Linked DNA regions of Homo sapiens: regions 2, 3 and 4 are each linked to region 1. The links are contacts of gene promoters, found by promoter capture Hi-C in blood cells and fetal thymus (Javierre and others, 2016). All regions are on one chromosome and are shown on one strand. Each heading gives the region's core, a stretch centred on a gene start or on the middle of the fragment in contact. The rest is flanking DNA. Distances are from core to core; before and after follow the strand shown.

Region 1 (3,217 bases), core at 295-2,794:
CTTCAACATATCTCTGAAACTTAGGATTTTCAACTCTTAGAAATAACAAATATAGGCTGGGCGCAGTGGCTTACACTTACAAATACCAGCACTTTGGGAGGCCGAGGAGGGTGGATCACCTGAGGTCAGGAGATTGAGACCAGCCTGGCCAACAAGGTGAAACCCCGTCTCTACTAAAAATACAAAAATTAGCTGGGTGTGGTGGAGCAGGCCAGTAATCCCAGCTAATCGGGAAGCTGAGGCAGGAGAATCGCTTGAACCCAGGAGGCAGAGGTTGCAGTGAGCTCAGATCGGGCCAGCGTACTCCAGCCTGAGCAACAGAGTGAGACTGTCTCAAAAACAAACAAACAAACAAAGGCAGGGGGAGGGGGGCACATTTCCATGTTGACAGCTGCTCTGGCTCAGAAACTTTTAATTATCCACTAGTAGAGCCATCTGGATTACTGCAATAGTTCTCTAATAGGCCTTCTTTCTTTTTCTTGTCCCTCAAAATCTATAATATAGTCTCCCAACAGCAAGAGTGAACCTTTTAAAAGTGAGTCAGGTCATATCACTTGTCTGCTCCAATCCCTCCAGTGGGTTTTCAGTGATGACTTTCTTGTACCACCCTATTTAAAACCTCCATCCCTGCCCCTGCCCTGATTTGTTATCCTTTATCTGCTTTATTATCTCTATAGCACTTATCACCTATGTATCATAACACATATTTGACTTGTTTTTTTATCTCCTCCCATTGGAAGGCAGGGATCTTTGCTCCCTGCTATCTCAGATTCTACAATGGTGCTTGGCACATAGATAACACTCAATATCAGCATCCTAAGAGAGAGAAAAATGAAAAAGGAAAAGCACTCAATATGTTTTTGAATAAATGAATTAGTGTGTTTGTTATGACAATTTATGATAATCAAGGGGTTGGGTACTCATTACTGCTAAGTTAATTGAGCACTGTCTCAATTAATTGAGTTAATGTCTAAGCTTTCTGCATGTTTCATTTAATACCCACAATCTCCTGTGATGTAGTTCATTATTTTTTCCATTTTACCGAGTAGAAAACTGAGGACTAGAAGCTGATTCCCACAGCACGTTTCAGTTGAGTTGGATTTTGTTTTCCTGGGCCTGCTTCTTCATAAAGGGACTGGACTAAGAATACTCTTGACCAGCCCGTAAGAACTTGGCACTCGTCTCAGTAATCTGAGATAGCAGGGTTTGGCGTCCATAGCAACCACGGCGACAGGACGCGCTCGAGCAAGAACCAAAAAGCGAGAACAGGTACAAGGCCAAACTTTCTACATTCACAGACACCTACCAAACCCCGAACATGGAACACCAAATTAGAACGCTGACCAGTTCCTGGTAATGTAGAAAACACCCAAGTTAAAACGGCAACAGAGTGACACAGCAGCCATTGAAGATGCCCCACTTCAGGCACCGACAGGCGTCACGTGACGGGTGGGGAACGCCAACCGCCTGGGCCTAGCGCAGCTTCCTCCGCCCACCACGGAAGTGAGGCGGGGATACTAAAGCGACGGAGCCCGGTGGACGGAAGTGGGTGTTGGAGGCTTTAAGGTAGCTTTAAATTCGTGTTGTCCTGGGAGCTCGCCCTTTTCGGCTGGAGTCGGGCTTTACGGCGCCGGATGGCTCTGGACGTGAAGTCTCGGGCAAAGCGTTATGAGAAGCTGGACTTCCTTGGGGAGGGACAGGTGAGGCTCTCTGGAAGGACGGGGAGGGCCCCAAGCGGACAGCCCCGCGCCGCCTCCACCTTTGCGGGTTTTCCCGTGGAGGCCAGAGGTCTGGCTTGGCTGCTCGTTCTCGTTGGGGGAAACCGTCCAGACGCACTTGCTGCCCATTCTTTACATCCTGGGGGTGAATCCCTGAGGGGCCTCTCCTTGCTGAAGAGTAGCCTGGAGCTGGACGGAGACTGACCCGCCACGTTTCCAGCCGCCGCGAGTCTGCTCAGGAACTCTGGGCTCTTTGCTTCGCGAAATGTAAAAATGCAAAAAGGCAAACACAAAAACTCCCATAAACTTATGTTATTTCTATTTTTCTTTCTAGTTTGCCACCGTTTACAAGGCCAGAGATAAGAACACCAACCAAATTGTCGCCATTAAGAAAGTGAGTTACCTTTTTATGTTGTTTTTAAGTCTCCTTGAAGATGTCTGTATTATTAATTGACTGATAGCCATTTTATTAGTCTTGACCATACTCTGATAATGAGTTACTCATGTCATTTTCAGAGACAAAATAATTAATTAGTGCTTTGTGTTCCCAAACGGAACTCTAGGGTTGAACCCGTTTTAATTTCTATTGAAATGAAGAAGAAGCTGTATGTTATTTTTACTGCATAAATTCATATGTTGTGGGCAAGTACTGCCCATCTTTTCGGTCCTCAGAACTATTGGATACCATGATCTTTCTAGGTCACTGTTTATACCTCACCTGCATCCACTCAGTGTGTCGTATCTGTATTTTCTGTGTACGGATTTACCATGAAAGACTTTCACTAGCATGAACAACATTGATGTGAGGTCTAAAATGAGTTCAGTAGCTTCTTATATTCATTCAAAAGACCTGGGTCGGATTCAGTAGCTTCTTATATTCATTCAAAAGACTTGGGTCGGGCCAGCCGCGGTGGCTCACGCCTGTAATCCCAGCACTTTGGGAGGCCGAGGTGGGCGGATCACTTGGGGTCAAGAGATCCAGACCATCCTGGCCAACATGGTGAAACCCTGTCTCTACTAAAAATACAAATATTAGCTGGGTGTGGTGGCACCTGTCTGTAATCCCAGCTACTCGGGAGGCTGAGGCAGGAGAATCACTTGAACCTGGGAGGTGGAGGTTGTAATGAGCCGAGATGGTGCCACTGTGCTCCAGCCTGGTGACAGAGGGAGACTCCATCTTAAAAAAAAAAAAAAAAAGATTTGGGTCATAATTACATAACTCACGTTCACCTACATTGTTTCTTTTAACCTTCAAAACAATCTATAAAGTGGTTAAAAGTAACCCTATTTTATACTTGAGGTACCTGAGACTGAGTGACTAGGTGACTTGTCAAGATCACACAGCTAGTGATTGCTGAAGCTGGGATTTAAATCCAGGTGTCCTGATGTTGCTTTTGTTACCGTTGCTACTTTGAATCTGCTTCTCCTGCTTCAAAAACCCTAACTCCTTGGAAGTTATCCATATTTAACATTAATTCCCCCTTTTTTTGGTCATCTTC
Region 2 (3,217 bases), core at 718-3,217, 110 kb after region 1:
TTTGTTTTGGCAGTTCTGAGTCCCTTGAATTTCCGTATGTATTTTAGGATTAGCTTGTCAGTTTCTACAAGGAAGCCAGCTGGGAATTATGATATGGATTGTGCTAATACTGTACATCAATTGGCAAGTATTGCCATTTTAGCAATGTTAAGTTTTCTGATGCATGAAGATGGGATAGCTTTCTTTTTTGTGTGTGAGATGGAGTCCTGCTCTTTTGCCTACACTGGAGTGCAGTGGTGCGATCTTGGCTCAATGCAATCTCTGCCTCCTGGATTCAAGCAATTCTCCTGCTTCAGCCTCCTGAGTAGGTGGGATTACAGGCATGCACCACCATGCTCAGCTAATTTCTTTTCTTTTTCTTTTTTTCTTTTCTTTTGAGACGGAGTCTCACTGTATTGCCCAGGCTGGAGTGTAGTGGCGCAATCTCGGCTCACTGCAACCTCCACCTCTCAGGTTCAAGCAATACTCCTGCCTCAGCCTCCTGAGTAGCTGGGATTACAGGCATGCACCACCAGGCCCAGCTAATTTTTATATTTTTAGTAGAGACGGGGTTTCACCATGTTGGTCAGGCTGGTCTCGAACTCCTAACCTCGTGATCCACCCACCTCAGCCTCCCAAAGTGCTGGGATTAAAGTCATGAGCCACTGCACCCGGCCGGGTCTTTTTTTTTGAGACACAGTCTCATTCTGTCACCCGGTTGGAGTGCAGTGGGGCAATCTCAGCTCACTGCAACCTCCACCTCGTGGATTCAAGCGATTCTCCTGGATCAGCCTCCCAAGTAGCTGGGATTACAGGCTCCCACCACCACACCCAGATAATTTTTGTATTTTTAGTAGAGATGGGATTTTGCCACGTTGGCCAGGCTGGTCTCGAACTCCTGACCTCAGGTGACCTGCCTGTCTCAGCCTCCCAAAGTGCTGGGATTACAGGCATGAGCCACCATGCCCAGCCTTATTTATTTGTTTATTTTTCAACTTAACAGAATTCATCTTTTTTTTTTTTTTTTTTTGAGATGGAGTCTTGCTCTGTTGCCCAGGCTAGAATGCAGTGGCACAATCTCAGTTTACTGCAACCTCCACCTCTCGGGTTCAAGCAATTCTCCTGCCTCAGCCTCCGGAGTAGCTGAGATTACAGGCGCCTGCCACCATCCCTGGCTGATTTTTGTATTTTTAGTAGAGATGGGGTTTCACCATGTTGGCCAGGCTGGTCTCAAACTCCTGACCTCAGGTGATCTGCCTGTCTTGGCCTCCCGAAGTGCTGGGATTACAGGCATGAGGCACTGTGCTGGGCCAACAGCAATTCATCCTGAATGTAAACTTTTTAATATATGTTGGGAATTATTCCCTTATCTTCTATTTGTTGGGAGAAATTTTAAAATAATTGGTATTGGCTCTTTTTTAAACATTTAATAAAATTCACCAGTGGCTCTCTCTTCTTCCTGCTCTAGCCATGTAAGACGTGCCTGCTTCTCCTTGGCCTTCTACCATGATTATAAGTTCCCTCAGGCCTCCCCAGCCATGCTTCCTATATAGCCTGTGGAACCATGAGCCAATTAAACCTCTTTTCTTTATAAACAATAAAAAAAATCGCCAGGTGTGGTGGCTTACACCTGTAATCCCAGCACTTTGGGAGGCCAAGGTGGGTGGATCACCTGAGGCTGGGAGTTCAAGATAAGTCTGGCCAATAAGGTAAAACCCCGTCTCTACTAAAAATACAAAAAATTAGCTGTGTGTGGTGGTGGGCGCCTGTAATCCCAGCTACTCGGGAGGCTGAAGAAGGAGAATTGCTTGAATCCGGGACGCGGAGGTTGCACTGAGCCAAGATGTCACCATTGCACTCCAGCCTGGGCAACAAGAGTGAAGCTCCATCTAAAAAATAATAATAATAAATAAATTAATTAATTAATTTAAAAAAATCACCAGTGAAGCCATCTGTGCCTGGACCTTTCTGTGTAGGAAGTTTTAAAATTACTAATTTATTATATTTTCTTGTTATAGGCCTATTCATAATTTATATTTCTTCTTGAATCAGTTTCAGAAGTTTGTGAATTTCTAGGAATTTGTCCATTTAATATAAATTATCTAATTTGTTGGCATACAGTTGTTTATAGTTTTCCTTTATAATCCATTTGATTTCCGTAGTCAGTAGTGATATCCCCTCCCTTCTCTTTTTTGTTAATCTAGATTAAGGTTTGCCGATTTTGTTGATTTTTTTAAATCAAGTTGTTTTATTATTTTGATAATTCTGTACATATTCTAGATACACACCTGATATCAGATATTCATTTTGCATTTTCTCCAATCTGTGATTTGTGCTTTCATCTTCTTTCTCTTTTTTAAAATTTGTAGAGATGGAGTCTTTCTATGTTGCCCAGGCTGGCATGCAGTAGCTATTTGCAGGCACAGTCATACCTCACTACAACCTTCAACTCCAGGGCTCAAGTGATCCTCCTACCTCAGCCTCCCTAGTAGCTGGGAGTAGTTTGGACTAGGGTGAGCACTGCTGCCCTGGCTCTTTGTGCTTTCATTTTCTTAACATTGTCTTTTGAAGAGAGAAAGAGTTATGAATTTTGCTGAAGTCCCATGTATCAGTCCCTTTATGGTTTGTGCTTTTTGTGTCTTATCAGAAAAATCTTTTTTCTAATCCAAGACACTAAATTTTTTCACTTGTTGAAAGATTATTCTTTCCCCCATTGACTTGCCTTTGGACTTCCATCAAAAATTGCCACAGAGCTCGGTGGCTGTCGCCAGTAACGCTAACACTTTGGGAGACTGAGGCAGGAGGATTCATTGAGCCCAGGAGTTCCCGACCAGGCTGGGCAACGTGGTGAAACCTTGTTTCTACACAAAGTTAAAAAATTAGCCAGGTGTACTGGCGAGCATCTGTAGTTCCAGCTACTTGGAGGCTGAGGTGGGAGGATCACCTGAGCCTGGGGAGATTGAGGCTGCAGTGAGCAAAGAGCATGCCATGGCATTCCAACATGGGTGACAGAGCAAGACCCTGTCTCAAAATAAAAAAATGGCCCATCAACTACTGTCAGCTTCAGGTGGGGGGCGCGGGGGAAAAACTTTAAAAAGAAAACATTTTTAAAAATGTGCCCATATGTGCAGATTTCTTTGCTTTTTTTTTTTTTTTTTTTTTTTTAGACAGGGTCTGTCTGTGTTGCCCAGGCTGGAGTGCAGTTGTGCAATCTCAGCTCACTGCAACCTCAGCTCAC
Region 3 (3,217 bases), core at 496-2,995, 110 kb before region 1:
CATAGTGGCTCATGCCTGTAATCCCATAATCCCAACACTTTTGGAGGCCAAGGTGAGAAGATCGCTTGAGCCCAGGAGTTTGAGGACAGCCTGGGCAACATAGACCCTGTCTCTACCAAAGAAAAAAATTTGTTTTTAATTTAAATAAATGCGAGATTACTATTGTATGTTTCCTTTTTATTATACTTGTTTTACTTTGGAAAATTTTACTGTGTTTAAGACATAATAAGACCATATTTGGAATCTGCTCATTAATAAATTATAATTGTTGGCATATAAACTGTTCAAATTTACCTAGCAATATAAAGATTTCAGGTACAGTGTATACTTGCCCTAGTAAGCAGTACTTTCAAACTCTTCAATAAACAAAACAAAACTTTGCATCATTTATTTATACATAAACCATAAACCAAGTACATACCATTCTTAATTGAAATAAGTCCAAATTCCTCTACTTACCAATTCTGCTTGATATTTGAAAGTTAAAATGTTTCTTCTAAAATGTTCTAAAATTCACATTTTTAAAATTTTGGACTTACTGAAACTTAGTAAGGTTTTACTGTGAATACTTTCAAAACTGTAAACAGAAAAACATATATAGCTATATAATAACTTTTAAATAACAAGTCTATTTTTAAATTACTAATTTAAAGGTTTTTTTTCTCCCTTTTGCTAGCCAGTCTCAGTTGGAGGGCTGATAGTAAACCTTATTGGTATCTGTGCCTTTAGCCATGCCCATAGCCATGCCCATGGAGCTTCTCAAGGAAGCTGTCACTCATCTGATCACAGCCATTCACACCATATGCATGGACACAGTGACCATGGGCATGGTCACAGCCACGGATCTGCGGGTGGAGGCATGAATGCTAACATGAGGGGTGAGTCCTTGCAAAATATTATCCTACTTTTCAACTGTGTTCTAAATCAACCCTCTGTGTTTATTTGTATTAAGTTTTGGGCTTCTGGTATGATATGATTTTTAAAAAGCAATCTGTGACTAAAAGAAAGGTCTGAAGCTATCACTATAGAAAATATTCTTACCTGAATACACATAAAATTAAATATTATTCAGCCTTTAAAAAGAGGGACATTCTGGCTGGGAGCATGGTGGTTCACGCCTGTTAATCCCAGCAATTTGGGAGGCTGAGGCGGGAGTACCACCTGAGGACAGGAGTTCAAGACCAGCCTGGCCAATATGGTGAAACCCTGTGCCTACTAAAAATACAAAAATTAGCCGGACATGGTGGCAGGTGCTTGTAATCCCAGCTACTCAGGAGGCCGAGGCAGAAGAATCGCTTACAGGTGTGAGCCACCATGCCTGGCCGTCACAGAAAATTTTTTAAAAAGAAAATGAGGCTGGGAACAGTGGCTCACATCTGTAATCCTAGCACTTTGGGAGGCCAAGGTGGGTGGATCACCTGAGGTCAGGAGTTCGAGACCAGTCTCTCCAACATGGTGAAACCCTGTCTCTACTAAAAATACATAACTTAGCCAGGTGTGGTGGCAGGCGCCTGTAGTCTCAGCTACTCAGGAGGCTGAGACACGAGAATCACTTGAACCTGGGAGATGGAGGTTGCAGTGAGCCAAGATTACGCCACTTTACTCCAGCCTGGGCAACAGAGTGAGACTCTATCCAAAACAAAAAGAAAATGAAAATATATTTGTTCTTAAATGTTAGTTTTTAAATGATTATAATTATATAGTCCTTTTCATAGTGACAGCTGAATAGATATTAGTTGCAAGGTAAACACAGTGTGCTATTATGAACCTTCATTACAAAAAGGAAATTCTTACTCCTTTTTTAGAAATTTTTATTGCACTATAAAAAAAATGGAGGAAGTACTAATCATTTATTTTGCTGAATTGTTTATTCTGATTGCTTAATATAAGTAATGTGGGTAATGTCAAAACTTGCCTCAAGTATGATTTTTGGGAAGCCTTTCCAGACAAAGTACACCATAAAATTTGGCACGCTGTGTCATGAGTGCCTATGTCCTTATATTTTTACCACTGTATTCTGAATTCCTTGAGGGCAGTGACCATGTTTTAGGCATTTTGAAGTACTAGCCAGTAGCAGAGTATGTGGTGCACAGTAGGTATCCAGTAATATTAGTAGAATGTATTAAAAAACTAAATTAGATGTGCCTTAATTTTTAATGTCCTTATATATTTTATTTGTAGGTGTATTTCTACATGTTTTGGCAGATACACTTGGCAGCATTGGTGTGATCGTATCCACAGTTCTTATAGAGCAGTTTGGATGGTTCATCGCTGACCCACTCTGTTCTCTTTTTATTGCTATATTAATATTTCTCAGTGTTGTTCCACTGATTAAAGATGCCTGCCAGGTTCTACTCCTGAGATTGCCACCAGAATATGAAAAAGAACTACATATTGCTTTAGAAAAGGTACTGTATGTAATTTCTTCACTACTTTCTTCCTTGAAAATCACATTTTTGAAGTCTTTGCTGGAAGTAAAACAGACAACCAAATAAATAATAAAACAAAACGAGGCCAAAAAAGAAATATAAAGTAGCATTTAAAATTTAATAAGTTGACCTAACAAGAAATATGCAAGATATAAATGAGAAAAATACAGTTTTACTTAAAGGATATAAAACAGGGACCGAATAGATGGATGAGATTTTCTTGGATGAGAAGACTCTTTATTATAATGATGTTGATTTTATTTTATTTAGATTTCAATTTAGTTGCCTTCATTGGATATTTTTGTTTATGGTTTGGGATGTTCTAAAATTATTTGGAACTTACTTGGAAGAGTTAGCGCTTGAGAATAAGAAAACATACATAAACTTACAGAATTAATTAATAGGATCCTACTTTGCAATTATAAAGTAGCAGAATTAAGTGACAAAACTAACAGTTTAGATCGAGACCATCCTGGCTAACAAGGTGAAACCCCGTCTCTACTAAAAATACAAAAAATTAGCCGGGCGTGGTGGCGGGCACCTGTAGTCCCAGCTACTCGGGAGGCTGAGGCAGGAGAATGGCGTGAACCCGGGAGGCAGAGCTTGCAGTGAGCCGAGACCACGCCACTACACTTCAGCCTGGGTGACAGAGCGAGACTCCACCTCAAAAAAAAAAAAAAAAAACCTAACAGTTTGGTCCTTGCACAAGAATAAAGACATAAATCAACTTTTAAAAAAATAATAAGTTCCCATTCTTGTGACCTGGGATTGTTTCCTGGACAGCACAA
Region 4 (3,217 bases), core at 207-2,706, 88 kb before region 1:
AGAAGAATGTATATTCTGCAGCTGTTAGATGAAATGTTAGGTAAATATTATTACGTCCACTGTCTATGGTGCAGATTCAGTCCAAAGTTTCTTTGTTGTATTTTTGTCTGGATGATCTGTCAAATGCTGAAAGTGGGGTGCTGACATCTCCAGCTACTATTGTATTGGGGTCTATCTCTCTTTTCAGTTCTAATAAAATTTGCTTTATATATATATATGGGTGCTCCAGTGTTGGGTACATATATATTTACAATTATTATATCATTTGCTGAATTGACCCCTTTATCATTATATAATGTCCTTCTTTGTCTCTTTTTATTATTTTTATTTTACTTTATTTTATTTTTTTTGAGACAGAGTCTCACTATGTCGCCCATGCTGGAGTGCAGTGGTGCGATCTCAGCTCACTGAAACATCTGCCTCCCAGGTTCAAGTGATTCTCCTGCCTCAGCCTCCTGAGTAACTGGGATTACAGGCGCCCACCACCACGCCTGGCTAATTTTTGCATTTTTTTTAGTAGAGACGGGGTTTCGCCATGTTGGCCAGGCTGGTCTCAAACTCCTGATCTCAGGTGATCCACCCACCTTGGCCTCCAAAAGTGTTGGGATTACAGGCATGAGCCACCGTGCCTGGCCCTTTGTCTTTTCATAGTTTTTGCCTTGAAATCTGTTATGTCTAATATTAGTATAGCTACTCCTACCCTTTCTTGGTTTCCATTAGCATGGAATATCTTTTTCCCTCCATTTATTTTCGGTCTGTGGGTGTCTTTATAGGTGAATTGTGTTTCTTGGAGGCAATAGATCTTTGGGTCTTGTTTTTTTAATCCATTCAGCCACTCTGGGTCTTGACTAGAGAGTCTAGTCCATTTGCATTCAATGTTATTTGTAAGTAAGAACTTATTCCTCCATTTTGTTATTTTCTGAATCTTTTGTGGTCTTCTTTTCCTTCTTCCTTCCTGTCTTCCTCTTAGTGAAGGTGATTTTCTCTAGTCATATGTTGAATTTCTTGCTTTTTACTTTTCATGTTTGTGTTGTATGCTTTTAGATTTGAGGTTAGCATCAGGCATGCTAATAATACCTTAAAAACCCATTATTTTAAACTGATTATAACACAGAACATAAACAAACTAACAAGCAAAAAGAAAACTAGGGCCGGGCGCGGTGGCTCACGCCTGTAATCCCAGCGCTTTGGGAAGCCAAGGCGGGCAGATCACGAGGTCAGGAGATCGAGACCATCCTGACTAACACGGTGAAACCCTGTCTTTACTAAAAATACAAAAAATTAGCCAGGCGTGGTGGCACACGCCTGTAGTCCCAGCTATTCAGGAGGCTGAGGCAGGAGAATGGCATGAACCCAGGAGGCGGAGCTTGCAGTGAGCCGAGATGGCGCCACTGCACTCCAGCATGGGCGACAGAGCAAGACTGTGTCTCAAAAAAAAAAAAAGAAAGAAAGAAAACTCTATACTTTAGCTTTGTCTCCTCACTTTTTAACTTTTTGCTATTTCTAGTCATATCTTACTGTACTATGTCTTGAAAATTTGTTGCAGTTATTATTTTTGATCAGTCTATCTTTTCATCTTTCTACTTGAGAAATGAGAAGTTTACATACCACAATTGCAGTGTTATATTATTCTGTATTTTTCCGTGTACTTACTATTACCAGTGAGTTTTGTAACTTCAGATGATTTCTTTTGTTGTTGTTGCTGTTGCTGAGACAGGGTCTTGCTTTGTCAGCCAGGCTGTAGAGCAGTGGCACAATCATAGCTCACTGCAGCCTTGAACTCTCAGGTTCAAGCATTCTTCCCACCTCAGCCTCCCAAGTAGCTGGGACTACAGGTATGCGCCACCACGCCCAGCTAACTCTTTTAACTTTTTTGTACAGATGAGGTCTCACTATGTTGCCCAGGCTGGTCTCAAACTCTTGAGCTCAAGTGATCCTCTCTCTTCAGCCTCTCACAGTGCTGGGATTACAGGCATGAGCCACTGCACCCAGTTCCTTCAAATGATTTCTTATTGCTCATTAACATCTTTTTCTTTTAGACTGAAGAACTCCCTTTAGCATTTCTTGTAGGATAGGTGTGGTGTTGATGAAATCCCTCAGCTTTTGTTTATTTGGGAAAGGCTATTTCTATTTCATGTCTGAAGGATGTCTTTTGCTGGATATACTATTTCTAGAGTAAAAGGTTTTTTTCCTTCTGCACTTAAATATGTCATGCCACTCTCTCCTGACCTACAAATTTTCCACTGAAAATTCTGCTGCCAGATGAACTGGAGCTCCATTGTATGTTATTAATATTTGTTTCTTTTCTCTTGCTGCTTTTAGGATTCTTTCTTTATCCTTGACCTTTCAAAGTTTATTAAATGCCTTGAGGTAGTCTTTGGGTTAAATTCTTAGGGTTCTACAACCTTCGTTTTTGTTTGTTTGTTTTTTGGGTTTTTTTTTTTCTTTTTTTTCTTTTTTCTACAATCTTCTTTCTTTTTTTTTGAGATGAAGTCTCACTCTTGTCCCCCAGGCTGGAGTGCAATGGCACGATCTCAGCTCACTGCAACCTCTGCCTCCCAGGTTCAAGTGATTCTCCTGCCTCAGCCTCCCGAATAGCTGGGATTACAGGCGCCTGCCACCAGGCCCAGCTAATCTTTGTATTTTTAATAGAGACAGGGTTTCACCATGTTGGCCAGGCTGGTCTTGAACTCCTGACCTTAGGTGATCTGCCCGCCTCGGCCTCCCAAAGTGCTGGGATTACAGGCATGAGCCACCACGCCCGGCCTTACAATCTTCTTATACTTGAATATTGATATCTCTCTCTAGGTTTGGGAAGTTCTCTGTTATTATCCCTTTGAATAAACTTTCTACCCCTATCTCTCTCTCTCTCTACCTCCTAAGGCCAAAAACTCTTAGATTTGCCCTTTTGAGACTTTCTTCTAGATCTCTTTTTTGTTTTTTTTGTTTTTTTTGTTTTTTGAGATGGAGTCTCGCTCTGTCACCCAGGCTGGAGTGCAGTGGCGCAATCTCAGCTCACTGAAAGCTCCGCCTCCCGGGTTCACGCCATTCTCCAGCCTCAGCCTCCCGAGTAGCTGGGACTACAGGCACCCGCCACCGTGCCCGGCTAATTTTTTGTATTTTTAGTAGAGACGGGGTTTCACCTTGTTAGCCAGGATGGTCTCAATCTCCTGACCTTGTGATCCACCCGTCTTGGCCTCTCAAAGTGCTAGGATTA

What was found. Contacts are between HindIII fragments. The CHiCAGO score rates a contact against its expected background, and 5 or more counts as called.
Region 2: a contact is called between a fragment that was not itself captured here and the fragment with the promoter of CDK7 in region 1, in 15 of 17 cell types (neutrophils, erythroblasts, non-activated CD4 T cells and 12 more). The highest score is 17.0, in neutrophils.
Region 3: a contact is called between a fragment that was not itself captured here and the fragment with the promoter of CDK7 in region 1, in 7 of 17 cell types (neutrophils, naive CD8 T cells, monocytes and 4 more). The highest score is 12.5, in neutrophils.
Region 4: a fragment that was not itself captured here is called in contact with the fragment with the promoter of CDK7 in region 1 in 1 of 17 cell types (monocytes); the score reaches 5.1 in monocytes.

The regions. Positions count from the first base shown.
Region 1 is chr5:69,233,342-69,236,558 of GRCh38, forward strand. It overlaps CDK7 (cyclin dependent kinase 7), which reads left to right and starts at 1,545. Exons shown (of 12, transcript NM_001799.4): 1 at 1,545-1,700; 2 at 2,053-2,112. The coding sequence starts at 1,635. RefSeq lists an enhancer at 1,267-1,795. The HindIII fragment of the contact is 18,686 bases long and covers 974-3,217 here.
Region 2 is chr5:69,343,289-69,346,505 of GRCh38, forward strand. No RefSeq gene overlaps it. Among named protein-coding and RNA genes, the nearest start is that of CCDC125, 12 kb to the left of the region's middle. The HindIII fragment of the contact is 4,249 bases long and covers 1-3,217 here.
Region 3 is chr5:69,121,018-69,124,234 of GRCh38, forward strand. SLC30A5 (solute carrier family 30 member 5) reads left to right here. Exons shown (of 16, transcript NM_022902.5): 13 at 677-878; 14 at 2,182-2,408. Among named protein-coding and RNA genes, the nearest start is that of SLC30A5, 29 kb to the left of the region's middle. The HindIII fragment of the contact is 7,248 bases long and covers 1-3,217 here.
Region 4 is chr5:69,145,135-69,148,351 of GRCh38, forward strand. No RefSeq gene overlaps it. Among named protein-coding and RNA genes, the nearest start is that of SNORA50D, 14 kb to the right of the region's middle. The HindIII fragment of the contact is 5,026 bases long and covers 1-3,217 here.